2 separate regions of the Homo sapiens genome follow, and region 2 is linked to region 1. The links are contacts of gene promoters, found by promoter capture Hi-C in human tissues and cell types (Jung and others, 2019). All regions are on one chromosome and are shown on one strand. Each heading gives the region's core, a stretch centred on a gene start or on the middle of the fragment in contact. The rest is flanking DNA. Distances are from core to core; before and after follow the strand shown. Region 1 holds the start of CBS (cystathionine beta-synthase). Region 2 overlaps LOC124905022 (a long non-coding RNA gene).

The links. The method cuts DNA at HindIII sites, captures the fragments that hold promoters and counts their contacts. A contact is called where the count stands out against the background at its distance.
Region 2: a fragment that was not itself captured here is called in contact with the fragment with the promoter of CBS in region 1 in 5 of the 25 tissues and cell types used here (adrenal gland, dorsolateral prefrontal cortex, mesenchymal stem cells and 2 more).

Annotation. Positions count from the first base shown.
Region 1 is chr21:43,073,156-43,080,911 of GRCh38, reverse strand. CBS (cystathionine beta-synthase) reads left to right here and starts at 5,077. Exons shown (of 17, transcript NM_000071.3): 1 at 5,077-5,142; 2 at 7,571-7,646. RefSeq lists a silencer at 565-736. The HindIII fragment of the contact is 35,360 bases long and covers 1-7,756 here.
Region 2 is chr21:42,935,342-42,943,097 of GRCh38, reverse strand. LOC124905022 (a long non-coding RNA gene) reads right to left here. Exons shown (of 2, transcript XR_007067881.1): 2 at 6,133-7,756. Among named protein-coding and RNA genes, the nearest start is that of MIR5692B, 12 kb to the left of the region's middle. RefSeq lists enhancers at 4,354-5,012, 5,013-5,670, 5,671-6,329. The HindIII fragment of the contact is 5,282 bases long and covers 348-5,629 here.

The DNA of each region.
Region 1 (7,756 bases), core at 3,828-6,327:
GTGGGGCAGACACGCAGAACGGGGAGCAGGAACTCTGCTTGCCCAAATGCAGAGTGGAGAGATGGCGTGAAAGTGAGTGAGTGCACACGTTACTCTCGGAAAATGACACAGCGTTGCTGGAAGACGTGCAGCCAACCTGAGACACGGACCGCCTGCATTCCTGGGCCAGCAGACTCGCCCCTCAAGTCAAAAGGAATAAATGTAACCAAAGAAGTGTGAGACTTACATACCCCAAATCCCAAAACACCACTGAAAGAAATTAAAGATCCAAGCTCCTCCTGGACGCCTGGGCTCAGGAACCCTCCCCTCAGAACGATCTTGGCCACCGACCTACACAAATCCTCCCCTCCTCTCATACCCAAAGGGCATTGTTGCTATAGTGCCAGCCCTTCAGCCCCTCGGATGCTCCAGCTCCTTATTCTAGAACTCTCCATCGGCAGTTCTTTCTCTCCAGTGACGCTGCCTGTCCATGGACCCACCAGCTTTTCACTGTCCCTGCCGCCTGCTGCCCATCCTTCCCGCCCCACCCAGCGCAGATCCCTGCAAACAAACGCAGCTCAGCCTCCCGTCTGTGCCGTCTCCCACCAACACACTCAGACAAAACTTCACTCTCACACGTAACCCAGCCTGCAAACAGCCCCAGTCCCGGTGGCTCCCAGCAAAGGGCATTTTGTTCTTCCCCTGCCGGGCTCTGCAGGGCTGGGCCCCGGGCTGCAGGTTGAGGTCAGGGCCGCTGTCCCTGAGGTCTCAGCTGCAAACAGGCACACTCCCTTCTGCTGTGTGTCCCAAGGGGTGAAGCAAACCACGGCTCAGCCCAAATCCAAAGGGTGGGTAAGTTTCCGCCACTGCCGTGACTTGGGCAGGGAGAGAGAATCTCGTAAACACACACGACCATCTCCAGCGCTCTTCCCCTGCCCTGCCACGCGGGCCACTCACCGCAGCCAGAGAAAAGCACAGCCGTGCTGCCAGGGGCCTGGGAAACTTGTGAATGGAAATTCGCAGGAGCCCTCAGTGCTGCCCACCTCTCCTCCTTCCCTTCCTCTTCCTCCTCCTTCCCTTCCTCTTCCTCCTCCTTCCCTTCCTCTTCCTCCTCCTCCTCCTCCAATCTCCTCCAGTTCTGAGGGCCCAGCCTTCCGGCCACCAGGGGATGGTGCAGGCCCAGGCCTCTCCCCTCTGCTCGCCCCCCAGTGGGGTAGCGGTTTATCCTCTGTCCACTCATGACATGTGCACTTTCTGCATACGTGTTATACTCTGAACAAAAGTAACAACAACAAAACCCTCCATCAGCTCGGCCTCGCTGTCCACTTGCTGCTGACCAGCTGTCAGGCCTATTCCTTTGAAGAAACAGAGGTGATTAGAAGGAAGCTCTTCCACCTTGTCCACAGGACGCCAGCATTCCTGCATCTCTGGCTCTGAGCTCCTTCCCAGTACAATGTGGTGGGCCAGGCCCTCCTGGGGGCTCTGCTCCTGCAGTGCCTCCTCTCATGTAGGCAGACACAGAAATGAGGCAGAGGCTAGAAAATGATGAGGGCCGGGGAGATGTGTTTTTCTTTTTTCTTTTTTTCTTTTTTTTTTTTTTTGAGATGGAGTTTCGCTCTTGTTGCCCAGGCTGGAGTGTAGTGGCGCGATCTCAGCTCACTGCAACCTCCACCTCCCAAGTTCAGGCGATTCTCCTGCTCCAGCCTCCCGAGTAGCTGGGATTACAGGTGCCTGCCACCACAACCAGCTGTATTTTTTCTTTCTTTCTTTCTTTCTTTCTTTTTTTTTTGTATTTTTAGTAGAGACGGGGTTTCACCATGTTGGCTAGGGTGGTCTCGAACTCCTGACCTCAGGCGATCCACCCGCCTTGGCCTCCCAAAGTGCTGGGATTACAGGCGTGAGCCATTGCGCTGGCCAGTTTTTGTATTTTTAGTAGAGACTAGAGACGGGGTTTTGCTATGTTGACCAGGCTGATCTCAAACTCCGGACCTCAGGTGATCCTCCCACCTTGGCCTCCCAAAGTGCTGGGATTACAGGTGTGAGCCACCCCACTTGGCCATTCGTGCACTTTCAGTGGTCAGGTGTAGCTTTTTCATTTTAAAATAGGACCTACGGCTCACATTGATATAACTAAGTGAATAAATAAATGAGGGAGAAGGAAAACTCTAATAATGGAATGCCAAATGGTACATGGAGGAGTGATGGGCTTAGAAAAACCACTATTCAGCAACCATTTTATTTTATTTTATTTTACTTATTTATTTACTTTTTTTTTTTTTTGAGACGGAGTCTTGCTCTGTCGCCAGGCTGGAGTGCAATGACACAATCTCAGCTCACTGCAACCTCCGAGTCCTTGGTTCAAGTGATTCTCCTGCCTCAGTCTCCCGAGTAGCTGGGATTACAGGCACGCACCACCATGCCCAGCTAATTTTTGTATTTTTAGTAGAGGCGAGGTTTCACCATGTTGGCCAGGATGGTCTCAATCTCTTGACCTCGTGATGCGCCCGCCTCAGCCTCCCAAAGTGCTGGGATTACAGGTGTGAGCCACAGCTCAGCAACCATTTTAATAAAAATCAATTCAGACAAAATCATCAGTAAGTGTTAAAACTAGAGAGTGGGCTGGCTGCAGTGGCTTACCCCTGTAATCCCAGCACTTTGGGAGGCCGAGGCAGGTGGATCACCTGAGGCCACGAGTTCGAGACCAGCCTGTCCAACATGGTGAAACCCCGTCTCTACTTAAAAAAAAATACAAAAAATAGCCAGGTGTGGTGGCAGGCACCCGTAATCCCAGCTACTTGGGAGGCTGAGGCAGAAGAATCGCTTGAACCCGGGAGAGGGAGGTTGCAGTGAGCCGAAATCACACCACTGCACTCCAGCGTGGGGGGGAGGTTGCAGTGAGCTGAAATCACACCACTGCACTCCAGCGTGGGTGACAGAGAAAGATTCTGTCTCAAAAAGAAACAAAACAAAACAAAATAACAAGTTAGAGAAACCAGATAGACTGAGTGACAGATTCATACACACCTGCACACGTGTGTGTGTGTGTGTGTGTGTGTGTGTGTGTGTGGAGAGACAGAGAGGGAGCAAATGTAGTAAAAACTTAACATTTGAAATAACAATGAGTTTCTGATAATAGAAGCAAAAAAAATTAATATTTGGAAAATCTGGATGAGGGAATATGACATTCTGTATGGTTCTTGCCACTTTTCTAATCTAAAATTACGTTAAAATTTCTAAAAAATTAAAAAGTATTTGGGCTGTGTAACAAATTACTGCAAACTTGAGTGGTTTAAAACAACACACATTGGGCTGGGCGCGGTGGCTCACTCCTGTGAGCCTAGCACTTTTGGGAGGCCGAGGCGGATGGATCACCTGATGTTAGGGGTTCGAGACCAGCTTGGTCAACATGATGAAACCCCGTCTCTACTAAAAATACAAAAATTAGCCTGGCATGGTGGTGCGTGCCTGTAATCCCAGCTACTCGGGTGGCTGAGGCAGGAGAATCGCTTGAACCCGGGAGGCTGAGGCTGCAGTGAGCCAAGATCTCACCATTGCACTCCAGCCTGTGTGACACAGACTCTGTCTCAAACAACAACAACAAAAACAACACCGTTTATCATCTTTCTCTCCCGCAGGCTGGCTGAAGGCTCTGAGGGAGGCCCTGGCCACCTTTCCCAGCCCTGTGGAGGCCGCCAGCCATCCCTGCCATTTCTCGTCTGGTGGCAGCACATCTCATCTCTGCCGCCATCTCCACATGGCCTTTTTCTCTCCGCGTGTCTGTGTCCACGTCTCTCTTCTTATAAAGACTGGACAGGATTTTTTTTTTTTTTTTTTTTTTTTTTTTTTTTTCTGGAGACAGTCTCGCTCAGTCGCACAGGCTGGAGGACAGTGGCGCGATCCCGGCCTCCAATGCCACCTTCCAGAGCCTTCATGATGTAACTCCATCCCTGTCCCCTCCCCACATCGCCGGCTTTATTGTTCTTCGTGTCAGTTCCTGCCAGTGGACATTTAATTCTAATTCACGTCTCACTCCCTCCCCTACTGTGAGCCCCACGTGGCAGAGACCGCGGCGGAGCTGCGCGGGCCGGAGGAGGCTGCGGAGCATCGCTCTGACCTGAGCCGGGGACGCTGCGGAGGCGCAGCACGTTCCTCTGCCCAGAGCTGATGGGCACCGTCCGTGTCTTTCGCTGCAGGTCCGGGGGGAGACTCGGGGGCCTGGGATCCCCCATTTAGCCATAGGGCGGGGGGATCAGGTTCAGCCTCTGAAAGTCCAGAGCACGATGTTTGGGAAACGGCCCCGCCCGCGGCCTCCGGGACCTGGCGAAGGAGCCCCGCGGGGCGCCCCTGCTACCACCCTGCGCGGAGTCGGCCCCGTCCCCGAGAGCGCCCGGCAGCCCCTGGCCGTGGGCCGCACCGGAGCCGCGCAAGGCGACTGTTCTGCGCCTCGGCTCGGGGTTCGGACCCGGCTCTGGGCGCGGTCACGCGGGGCGCTGCGCACGGCGTCCGGCGGCCACAGAGCGCGGCCATCGAGTCCCGCCCCGGCGCGGCGCCCCCTCCCGGGCCCGCGACACACGCCCTCGGGGTCGGTCCTCGAGGACGCGCAGGGCCCCCCACCCACCAGGACGCACGTTTCAAGCTCATCAGTAAAGGTTCCTTAAATTCCCGAAGGGCAAGAAGTTAACCAAGTAAAACAGCATCGGAACACCAGGTAGAAGACACCACCGGGGTCCGCGGGTGGGGGTGGCTGGAACCCGGGGCGGGCGGGCTCAGGCGAAGAGGAAGGCGGGGGAGGGGGCGGCGACCCGGGTCTGCGGTTGAATCAACAGGGCGTGGGAATGGGGCGGGCGGACTGGGGTGGGGGCATGCCGGGGTCCCGGGGAGGGCGGGGGTCGGGCAGGCCGGAGGGTCCCAGGCTGCGGCGGGGTGGGGAAGGGGTGGGGGGGAGGGGCCCGGGCTGGGTGGGGTGGAGGAGGGGCTGGGGGGGCGGGTGCTCTGCCACGAGACATTGGCCGGCGCCGGCCTCCGCCCCCGCCTCTCCGCCAATCACCGCCCGCCTGCTCCCCTCGCCGTGGGTCCCCGCGAGGCCGCCACCCCGGGGTCGCCGTCTCCGCCTCGCCGCAGTCGGGGCAGCCGCTCGCCCCTCTTTTCCATGTATCCGTCCAGGTGAGATCCGGCCCCACCGAGACTCGCTCCCCTCTCTGGACAGAGGATCTCAACTGGGTCCCGGTTTCCCTCTCCGCGCCTCCGCCCAGAGTTGCATCATCTGCACCGAAAGGCGGCGAGACAGGGTCTCCCAAGACCCCCGCCCCACCGGCGCCCACGCCTGCGGTCTTGACCGCCCAGAAGATGGGGGCTGGCCGTGCACGTGGCCCCGGGCTCCCACCCCAGCCCCCGCGCCGGCGGAGTGGACCCCACTGGCGGCGAGTCCTGGAGCGTGGAGCAGGGACGCGGGGTGGGAATCCGGGGGAGATGCACGTTTCGGTGCCCAGCATTGAGTTCGCTGCATTGTGGATGGGAAATGGCTGTTTGCAAATCGCCCTTTTTGGCGGACCGTGTGGGGTGGCGGTAAACGCTGTCGTTGCGCGGGCGGCACGCGAGGTGGGTGCCCGCTGGGGGAGGGACGCGGGGCTCTGCCCAGGTTGCGTTCGGGGGATGGAGGTTTTCCTGGGACCTCACTTCCCTGAGCCCCAGGCGAGACCGCAGCTGAGCTGTAGGATGCAAGCGGGAGGCGGAGCGTGGGTGGGAGAGCGGAGCGCGAAATTCTCGGCTTCCCGAGGATCTTCTGGGCTTACTTGTCCCCAGCTTTGTCCCAAAGTGTCGCTTCCGGAGGCGGAGTGGCCGGCGGTTTCCGGGTCTCAGTAGGGTCTGGATCTCCCACCTGGAAACCTAGAGGAGTTTCCCGCTCTCCGTGCGCGTGGCCTTCCCCAGGCCCCTCCGGGAGTGCTGGCGCGCGAGTGCAGGGGTGCCCCGGGAACGTCGTGACCCCAAGGGGGTCTTGTGGTTTAAGGAGCGAACGGAACCGGCCAGGCGATGCCAGCTGAACCCGCCTTCCCGGGACGCACGTGCATCCGGCCGCCCGGCGCTGTTGTCTTGGGGAGCCCGCGGGTTCGGGTCTGGGTCGCCTGGCGAGCTTTCCGCCGAGCGCCTCTGAGTTCTACAGAGCCCCGACGGCTTGCGATCTGCGTTCCCGGCAGTCCCTTACCTTGCGAGAGAGGGCTCCAGGGCGAGGCGAGGGGCCAAAAGCAAGGCGCTGGGCCGCCTGCGTCTGCCGGGGCCTCGGGTCCACGGCTTTCTGGAAGATTCGGCGGCGGAGCATGCGCGCCCCAGGCCAGACAGGGCCTGTGCCAGACGGAGAGTCCCTTCCCGTAGGTGACTCCCGCGACCCGCGGAGGAAGGTGCTGCTCCGCTCACGGCGGCGGCTTCTTACAAGGTTGGGATAGAAAGAAAAGCGTGGGACACGAACCTCTGAAAGCGGGTGCATTTTTCTGGGGAAGAGAAGATCCAACGCCTTCGGATTTTCAGACAAGTCCGTGGTCCCAAGACCTTGAAAGCACCACCCTCCAGGGTCGTTTGAAGCCGCTTTGGCCCCCAGTCTGGTGAATTGCAAAGGTGGAGGGGAGGCTGGGAAGTCCAGGAGGCCAAGCTGAGGCCTGGGTAGGGCCTGTGCGCAGAGACCACCTGAACAGCATACTCCAAGGGCTTCCAAAGGCAGCCGGCTTCCGCAACTTTTTCTTTTTTAATAGGCTTTTTAAAAAAAAAGCAGTTTTAGGCCGGGCGGGGTGGCTCACTCCTATAATCCCAGCACTTTGAGAGGCTAGGCGGGCGAATCACCTGAGGTCAGGAGTTCGAGACCAGCCTGGCCAACATGGTGAAACTTCGTCTCTACTAAAAATACAAAAATTAGCCGGATGTGGTGGCGGGCGTCTGTAATCCTACTCAGGAGGCTGAGACAGGAGAACTGCTTGAACCCGGGAGGTGGAGGTTGCAGTGAGCCGAGATCGCACCACTGCTCCAGCCTGGGCAACAAGAGGGAGACTCCGTCTCGAAAATTTAAAAAAGAGCAGTTTTAGATTTAGAAAAATTGAAAAAATAGATAGAGTTCCCCCAGTTTCCCCTGTTATTAAGATCTTAAACTGATGTCGTATATTTGTTACTTTATTTATTTTCTTTTATTTTTATTTTTATTTTTATTTTTTGAGACGGAGTCTCGCTCTGTTGCCAGGCTGGAGTGCAGTGGCGCGATCTCGGCTCACTGACCTCCCCCTCCCGGGTTCAAGCGATTCTCCTGCCTCAGCTTCCCGAGTAGCTGGGACTACAGGTGTGCGCCACCATGCTTGGCTAATTTTTGTAGTTTTAGTAGAAACGGGGTTTCACCATGTTGGCCAGGATGGTCTCGATCTCTTGACCTCATGATCCGCCCGCCTCGGCCTCCCAAAGTGCTGGGATTACAGGCGTGAGCCACCGCGCCCGGCCTATTTGTTACAATTAATGAGCCAATTCCACGATCACATAACCATTGTTGACATTAACCAAAGTCCGCGCTTGAGTCAGATTTGCAGAGTTTTCTCCTCACTGCCCTTTTCTATTCCAGGATCCCATGACAGATTCTGTTGTCACGTCTCCTTACAGAGTTTGAGCGGTGCTGAACTGTCAGCACCATCTGTCCGGTGAGTGACGGCTGTGGACTTAGTCTTCCTGTTGAATGTGGGGAATCAAAGGAGGGTGAAGCGGGGCTGAGCCCAGTCCTGGGCCCTCTGAAGAAGGCAAGGTGGGAGGT
Region 2 (7,756 bases), core at 1,739-4,238, 140 kb after region 1:
CCTGACCTGGCTTGAACATCACCTGCACACTTAGGTTATCATGTGCCTGGCAAACATTGACCAAGGAATGCCCAGCCTGCTGCCTGGGTACCAGGGACAGTGCCTACATCCTTCTGCTGCCCTAAGCAGGGTTCTGAGTGTGGTCCATCCCTCTTTTCCCCGAGTCACTGGGCAACTGCCAAATGCCGGGCCTTCCCTGAGCCCTGTGCACCAGAGAGCAGAGCCCTGGAGAGATCCCCACACTGTGTCCCACCCCTCCCCTGTGACTTCAGTAAGACTCGCAGTGTGCACTTGCTCATGACTCCCCAGAACTCTAGGATGGCACCAGTGTTGGTTTTTTCTTTCTTTTTGTTAGAAATAAATTTTTGGTGCCACAAAGAAATAGCACTCAAACATAAATTTAATTTTCTCAGCAAGGCAATGTTACTTCTATAGGAGGGTGCACCTCGAGGGTGGAGCAATGGTGAGAGCAAATCTGAAAAGGGAAGGGAAGGGGTTCTTATCCCTGATGCATGCAGCCCCTACTGCTGTGTCATTCCCATATTAGCTAGGGTTGGACCGCACCGTCTAAGCTAATTCCAGTTGGCTGTTTTAAAGAGAGCAGGGGTACGAGCTGGAGTGGCGGGGTGAGTAGTTTGGCGGGAAGGATGGTTACAAAACAGGTGACTCAGAATGACTCAGGTCAGAGCAGGTGATAGAGGCTAGGAGGGGACTGTTCACTGAAACTAGGGGCTAGGAGACGAAGGGAAAGAGGAAATTAAATTTTAAAATGAAGAACAAAGAACAGGGGAGCTGAACATACTGATGCACTGGTTCTTTGGAGAGGATCTCAGAACTCATTGTACTAAACAATTTACAGGCTAAAACCTTTGAAGAAGAATTTATTATATCCTACATTTTGTTTTTGTTTTTGAGACAGGGTCTCGCCCCGTTGCCCAGGCTGGAGTGCAATGGTGCAATCATAGCTCACTGCAACCTCCGCTTCCTGGGCTGGGTCAATCTTCCCACCTCAGCCTCCAGAGTAGCTGGAATTACAGGCATGCACCACCATGCCTGGTTAACTTTTAAATTTTTGTAGAGATGAGATCTCGCCATGTTGTGCAGGCTGGTCTCAAATTCCTGGGCTCAACGGATCCTCCTGCCTCCACCTTCCAAAGTGCTAAGATTATAGGCTTGAGCCACCGTGCCCATCCGGCACCAGTGTTTACCTGTGACAAAGCCACACCCAGACCCTCTACCTTCCCGCTCTTTGTCTCATGAATGAGTAATGAAACCATCCAGGCACAGAGACAAACCTCCTATTTGGTGGACCCGCTGAGATGCCCTGATTGCAAAACAACCATACCTGGAAATTGTCCTACCTATAACTTTTTGTGTGTGTGTGAGACAGTTTCACTCTTGTTGCCCAGGCTGAAGTGCAATAGTGCGATCTCGGCCCACCACAACCTCCGCCTCCCGGGATCAAGCAATTCTCCTGCTTCAGTCTCCCGAGTAGCTGGGACTACTGGCATGCACCGCCACACCCGGCTAATTTTGTACTTTTTAGTAGAGACAGGGTTTCTCCATGTTGGTCAGGCTGGTCTCGAACTCCTGACCTCAGGTGATCCGCCTGCCTTGGGCTCCCAAAGTGCTGGGATTATAGGCATGAGCCACCGCGCCCGGCCCTAGCCGGCTTCTTTACTGCAACCTGTTTTATCAGCAAGGTCTTTATGACCAGTGTCTTGTGCGAACTTCCTATCTCATCTTGTGACTTAGAATGCCTTAACCATCTGGGAATGCAGCCCCGGGAGGTCTCAGCCTCACTTTACCCAGCCCCTATTCAAGATTGAGTTGCTGTGGTTCACACGCCCCTGACACTCAAACACGTGCATTCAGACACTCACACGAGCAGGTGAGCGGCTTTGTGACACGCTGGCTGGAGAATTCCCTCTCCAAATCACAGTTCTGTTCTCAACCTTTTGTGCATAGGCCACTCTGATTTGCTCCCTGACTGCCAACCCCCGCCAAGAAAAACAGACTTTGGGCTGGGTGCGGTGGCTCACACATGTAATCTCAGCACTTTGGGAGGCCAAGGCAGGTGGATCACCTCAGGTTAGGAGTTTGAGACCAGCCTGGCCAACATGGTGAAGCCCCATCTCTACTAAAAATACAAATATTAGCTGGTTGTGGTGGCGGGCACCTGTAGTCCCAGCTACTGGGGAGGCTGAGGCAGGAGAATCCCTTGAACCTGGGAGGTGGAAGCTGCAGTGAGCCAGCATCATACCATTGCACTCCAGCTTCGGTGACACAGTGAGACTGCATGTCAAAAAACAAAAACAGGGTCGGGTGTGGTGGCTCACACCTGTAATTCCAGCACTTTGGGAGGCCGAGGCTGGCAATCACCTGAAGTCGGGAGTTTGAGACCAGCCTGACCAACATGGAGAAACCCCATCTCTGCTAAAAATACAAAATTAGCCAGGTGTGGTGGCGCGTGCCTGTAATCCCAGCTACTCGGGAGGCTGAGGCAGGAGAAGTGCTTGAAGCTGGGAGGCGGAGGTTGTGGTGAGCCAAGATAGTGCCACTGCACTCCAGCCTGGGCGACAGAGTGAAACTCCATCTCAAACAAAAACAAAAACAAGACTTTGTAAATAGAAAGATGTAAAGAAAGATAAGAATTTTGAGGCTGATACATTTCACATGCCCGGGGCTCTGTATTCTTTCTTCCTGGGCTCCTTCCCCATCCCCTGGATCGTCTTGTCATCATCGCCCCTGCTCACAGTGAACGATTTCCTCACTGGGAATTTCACAAGAACTGTAGACGCTGCCAGAATTCTTTGGCACAAAACTCCTCTGAGTCAGAGCCTAACGCTGTTAGCAAGGGAAGAACAGCTGCAAGGGCCACACATCTGTGAGTCTTTTGAGAATTTTATGATGAATAAAAACTATCCGTTACACAGACTCATACATTATATATTAACCTAACATGTCTTCAATTGCACTGCTAACCGTCTCTTTTCATACTTTTTTCTAACGACACCCCAATCCCAACAATAAATTAAAAAATCTGAAACTTTGACTATCTAGTAGCACTGCATGCCGTTTCCTAGTCGTATTCCTATTCCGCCTTTGGAGTAGCCATTCCCTTATTCCTTTACTTTCTTAATAAACTTGGTTTCGCTTTACAGACTGGCCCTGAATTCTTTTTGGCACGAGATCTAAGAACCCTCTTTTGGGGTCTGGATCTGGACCCCTTTCCTGTAACATAAGGGTCCCTTCACTGCGCTTGTGACATCCCAGGATCACCCTGGCCTCTAGGCAGTGTAGCTCCAGCTGGGCTGAGTGGAAGAGCCACCCAACGTGTTCAGTTTTACAAGAAGAATCATAAATAGAGCATTCACCAAAGGGGCAGAAGAGAAGCGGAAACCCTCAGGGTGCTGAGATTGTGGAAAGAGAATGATGCACTTAAATAACTGAAAGGTTGAAAAAAGTATGAAGAGCATCAAAAGATGCTGGAAAATACACCTTAAAAATACTGTGACCGGGGGCGGTGGCTCACGCCTGCAATCCCAGCACTTTGGGAGGCCGAGGTGGGTGGATCACCTGAGGTCGGGAGTTCAAGACCAGCCTGGCCAACATGGAGAAATCCCATCTCTACTAAAAATACAAAAAAATCAGCCAAGCTTGATGGCGCATGCTTGTAATCCCAGCTACTCGGGAGGCTGAAGCAGGAGAATCGCTTGAACCCGGGAGGCAGAGGTTGCAGTGAGCTGAGATCGCACCATTGCACTCCAGCCTCGGCAATAAGAGCAAAATTCCGTCTCAAAAAAAAAAAAAAAAAAAAAAAAAACAAGAAACAAAAAACCAAAGAAAACTTCAAGCCCCATGAGCTGGCTTAGGCTGACTCCCGCAAGTAGATGCCTTAGTTTGCAACCCGTCTGGTGACACAATTAGGATTTTTAAAGTGCTCAGTGGCACAAGGAAAAGGGAGGAAGGGTGGAAACTCAAAGCCATGAGAAAGACAACAGCCTGGGCTGGCGCGGTGGCTCACGCCTGAAATCTCAGCACTTTGGGAAGCTGAGGTAGGAAGATCACTTGAGGTCAAGAGTTTGTGACCAGTCTGGCCAAGATGGTGAAACCCTATCTCTAGCAAAAAATACAAAAATGAGCTGGGCGTGGTGGTGCACGCCTGTGGTCCCATCTACTTGGGAGGCTGAGGTGGGAGAATCGCTTGAACCCGGGAGGTGGAGGTTGCAGTGAGCCATGGTCACGCCACTGCACTCCAGCCTGGGGGACAGAGTGAGACCCTGTCTCAAAAAAATGAAAGACAAGTGCCTGCTTTTAAGTACAACTCAGGCCAAGGAAGGGCTCCTCCATGCAGAGGATCCTCACTGACAGCAGCAGGTAAACATTGCACCTGTGTCCTGCAGAGGCCCTCGGAGTCCCCCCTCCCTTTCCTCAGATAGGAAGGTTCAGATTCCCAGGGCTTAGGTCAGTTTGCAGAAATGTCTTTTCCCCCCTTTCTTTTTTTCCATAAACTCCATAGTTTAAAGCTTCTTTCCTGGAAAATAGCTGTCGGTGCCATGAAACTTTGCCTGTTGCACTAGAACGTCCTTTCTAGAATTTCTCCCTTACTCCGGCAGCAGCGACTTTCCATATGTCCTGGAGAAGAGAGTGTTTTACCTTGGCTTCCTCTCATTGGCTCAGGGCCGAGGATGATATATTTTAAGCCGTACATTTAAAAATAAAAGTCTTGGCAAGGGTTCTGATGAACTAAAACCATCAAGACATACTCGTTAGCTTAGGCTCCCATCCGCTTGGATTTCATAAGATTTCAAAGCCAATGCTGGAAAGAGAAAAAGAAGGCCGGGCATGGTGGCTCGTGGCTGTAATCCCAGCGCTTTGGGAGGCAGAGGCAGGAAGATCACTTGAGCCCAGCAGTTGGAGACCAGCCTGGGCAATATAGCTAGACTCTGTCTCAACAACAACAAAATTAGTCGGGCGTGGTGGCACGTGCCTGTAGTCCCAGTTACTCGGGAGGCTAAGGCACGGGAACCTTGAAAATTTGAGGCAGGCCTCAGTTAATTTAGAAAGTTTATTTTGCGAAGGTTGAGTACGCACCCGCGACACAGCTTCAGGAGGTCCTGACAACACGTGCCCAGGGTGGTCGGGGCACAGTTTGGTTTTATACATTTTAGGGAGACGTGAGACATCAATCAATATAGGTAAGAAGTACATTGGTTCGGTCTGGAAGGCAGGACAACCTGAAGCAAAGGCAGGAAGACAGGAAGCGGGGAGGGGGCTTGCAGGTCACAGGTAGGAGACAGACAAATGGTTGCATTCTTTTGAGTTTCTGATTAGTCTTTTCAAAGGAGGCCATCAGACATGCATTTACCTCAGTGAGCAGAGGGGTGACTTTGAATAGAATGGGAGGCAGGTTGGCCCTAAGCAGTTTCCAGCTTCACTTTTCCCTTTAGCTTAGTGATTTGGGGTGGGGGCAGGGGCAAGATTTGTTTTCCTTTCACAGGCAGGAGAATCACTGGAGCTCAGGAGTTTGAGATTGTAGTGAGCTGTTTTAGCAGGATGAGCTGTGGACAAAACCCCTCAGACACCAAGATAGTGAAGGGAGTGGCTGTAATCAGCTGGGAGCATGGGCAGGCTAGCGTCTTAAAATCCGAGCTCCTCAGTGCTCAACTTCTGTCCCTTTTAAGGGCTCACAACTCTAAGGGGGTCCGTGTGAGAGGGTCGTGATCGATTGAGCAAGCCAGGGGGTATGTGACGGGGGCTGCGAGCACCGGTGGTCAGAGTGAAAAAGAACAGAACGGGAGGTTTCACAATGTCCTTCCACACAATGTCTGGAATCTATAGATAACATCAGTTCCTAGGTCAGGGGTCGAATTTTAACTACCAGGCTTAGGTCAGGCAGGCCCAGGCCTGGTTTCGGGTCTGCTTCCTAGGCGCCGGGCTACCTGCCTTTAGTTTCACTTCTCTTTTTCTGAGTATAGAACAATATAAAACAATATGAGAGGGTCTCTCTCTTACCTCATTCCCCTGCTTTGAGACTCTCACTTTTTATTAGTGGGAGTTCTCACTCTTATCTTTGCCACTTATGTCTTCTTGTTGTTGTACCTGAGCGAGTTAGAGAAAACGCCACACTTTGAGACGAATTAAGAGTCCGTTTATTTAGCCTGCGGCCAAGAGATGGCTAATGCTCAAAGTTCTCTTGGCCCCGAAGAAGGGGCTAGATTTTCTTTTATACTTTGGTTTAGAAAGGGGAGGGGGGGTCTAGTTAAAACAATTTTACAGAAGTAAAGTAGGCAAAAAAGTTAAAAGGATAAATGGTTACAGGAAAGTAAACAGTTCCAGGTGCAGGGGCTTTAAGACTATTACAAGATGATAGTCTTGGCTTTGGGCGTTATCAATCAGACGAATTCCTGGGAACTGCGGATATAGCTCGCCACAGTATCTTATCAGTTAACTGCATTCTTGGATGTGCTGGGAGTCAGCTTGCACAAGTTAAGTCCTTGAGGAAGGGGCTGCCAGGGAAAGAGCCAAGATGGAGTCTGTCTGGCTCTCTCAGCTAAGGGAGAGTCCATTCAGGTGGAAATGAGGCTAGGTGAGTAAAGGAAAGGGAGAGTCTAAGAACAGGGTTAGTAAGAACAAGGTTGGGCATTACATTGTACAATAGATTGCTAGTGATTCATATAGTACACTTGTGCTGATGCATTTTGGTGAACTAAGGTAGCGATGAAGCTTTTTATCATTTGAAGAGGTACAGGTAGCAAATAAGGGAGCAGTAAGCAGGTTTCTGTTACTATTATAACTCCTATTATAAGAGTTTTAAATCCTTCTAGTGCTGGGAACCACCTGGCTCCAGGGCCGAATCCGTGTTACACTTGCAAGGGCACATGTGCCAGTTTTGTCATATTTCTAACTATGTCTTTAACTACTTGTCTTTAATTATCTATGTGTACACAGTAATTAGTAAGGTTAAATTTCTTGTAGACCTCTCTTTCGCCTGCTAGCAAGTAGTCGATCTATTGATCGATGGCAAGTAGCTGCTAGCCAGTGTATTTTGATAGATAGCAGTTCTTCTCCGAGTTTCTTGCTGGGCCAGAACAGTCAAGGCTTGACCGGTTTTATTAGTGATGATTTCTAAAACAGCTTGCAACTGTATGATTTCGTTGAGCATGTAAATGGGGGTCCGGTATCCCCATGACCTGTGTTATGTCTAAGTGGCAGGCCTATAGTATCGTATAATTTTTTTTTTTTTTTTTTTTGAGACGGAGTCTCGCTCTGTCACCCAGGCTGGAGTGCAGTGGTGTGATCTCGGCTCACTGCAAGCTCCGCCTCCCGGGTTCACGCCATTCTCCTGCCTCAGCCTCCTGAGTAGCTGGGACTACAGGCGCCCACAATCATGAGTATTGTATAATTTTTTTAGGAGGCCATTCATCATCTTTTTAATTATCTATGGCTATGTTTCACTTTTTGCAGGAGGCATAGACAGGGAAGCCCAGGAGTTCACCTGTTCTTATGGGCAGTAGGAAGAAAGATGGTTTAATAGTGCCAATAACACAACTACCTGTCCACTGGTCAGGCAGCTTAGCATGGGCTGGATGTCTACATATCTAGTATAGCCCAGTGGGGGCCTCCAGCCCCAGTGGGATTCTGGGGGGGCCCAAACAGTCAGCAACTTTGGAAATTTACTGAATGGATTTTTATCTGTATGGCTTGAACTCCACATGTAACTGTTTTTGTGGTACCATTATACAGTTTTTGT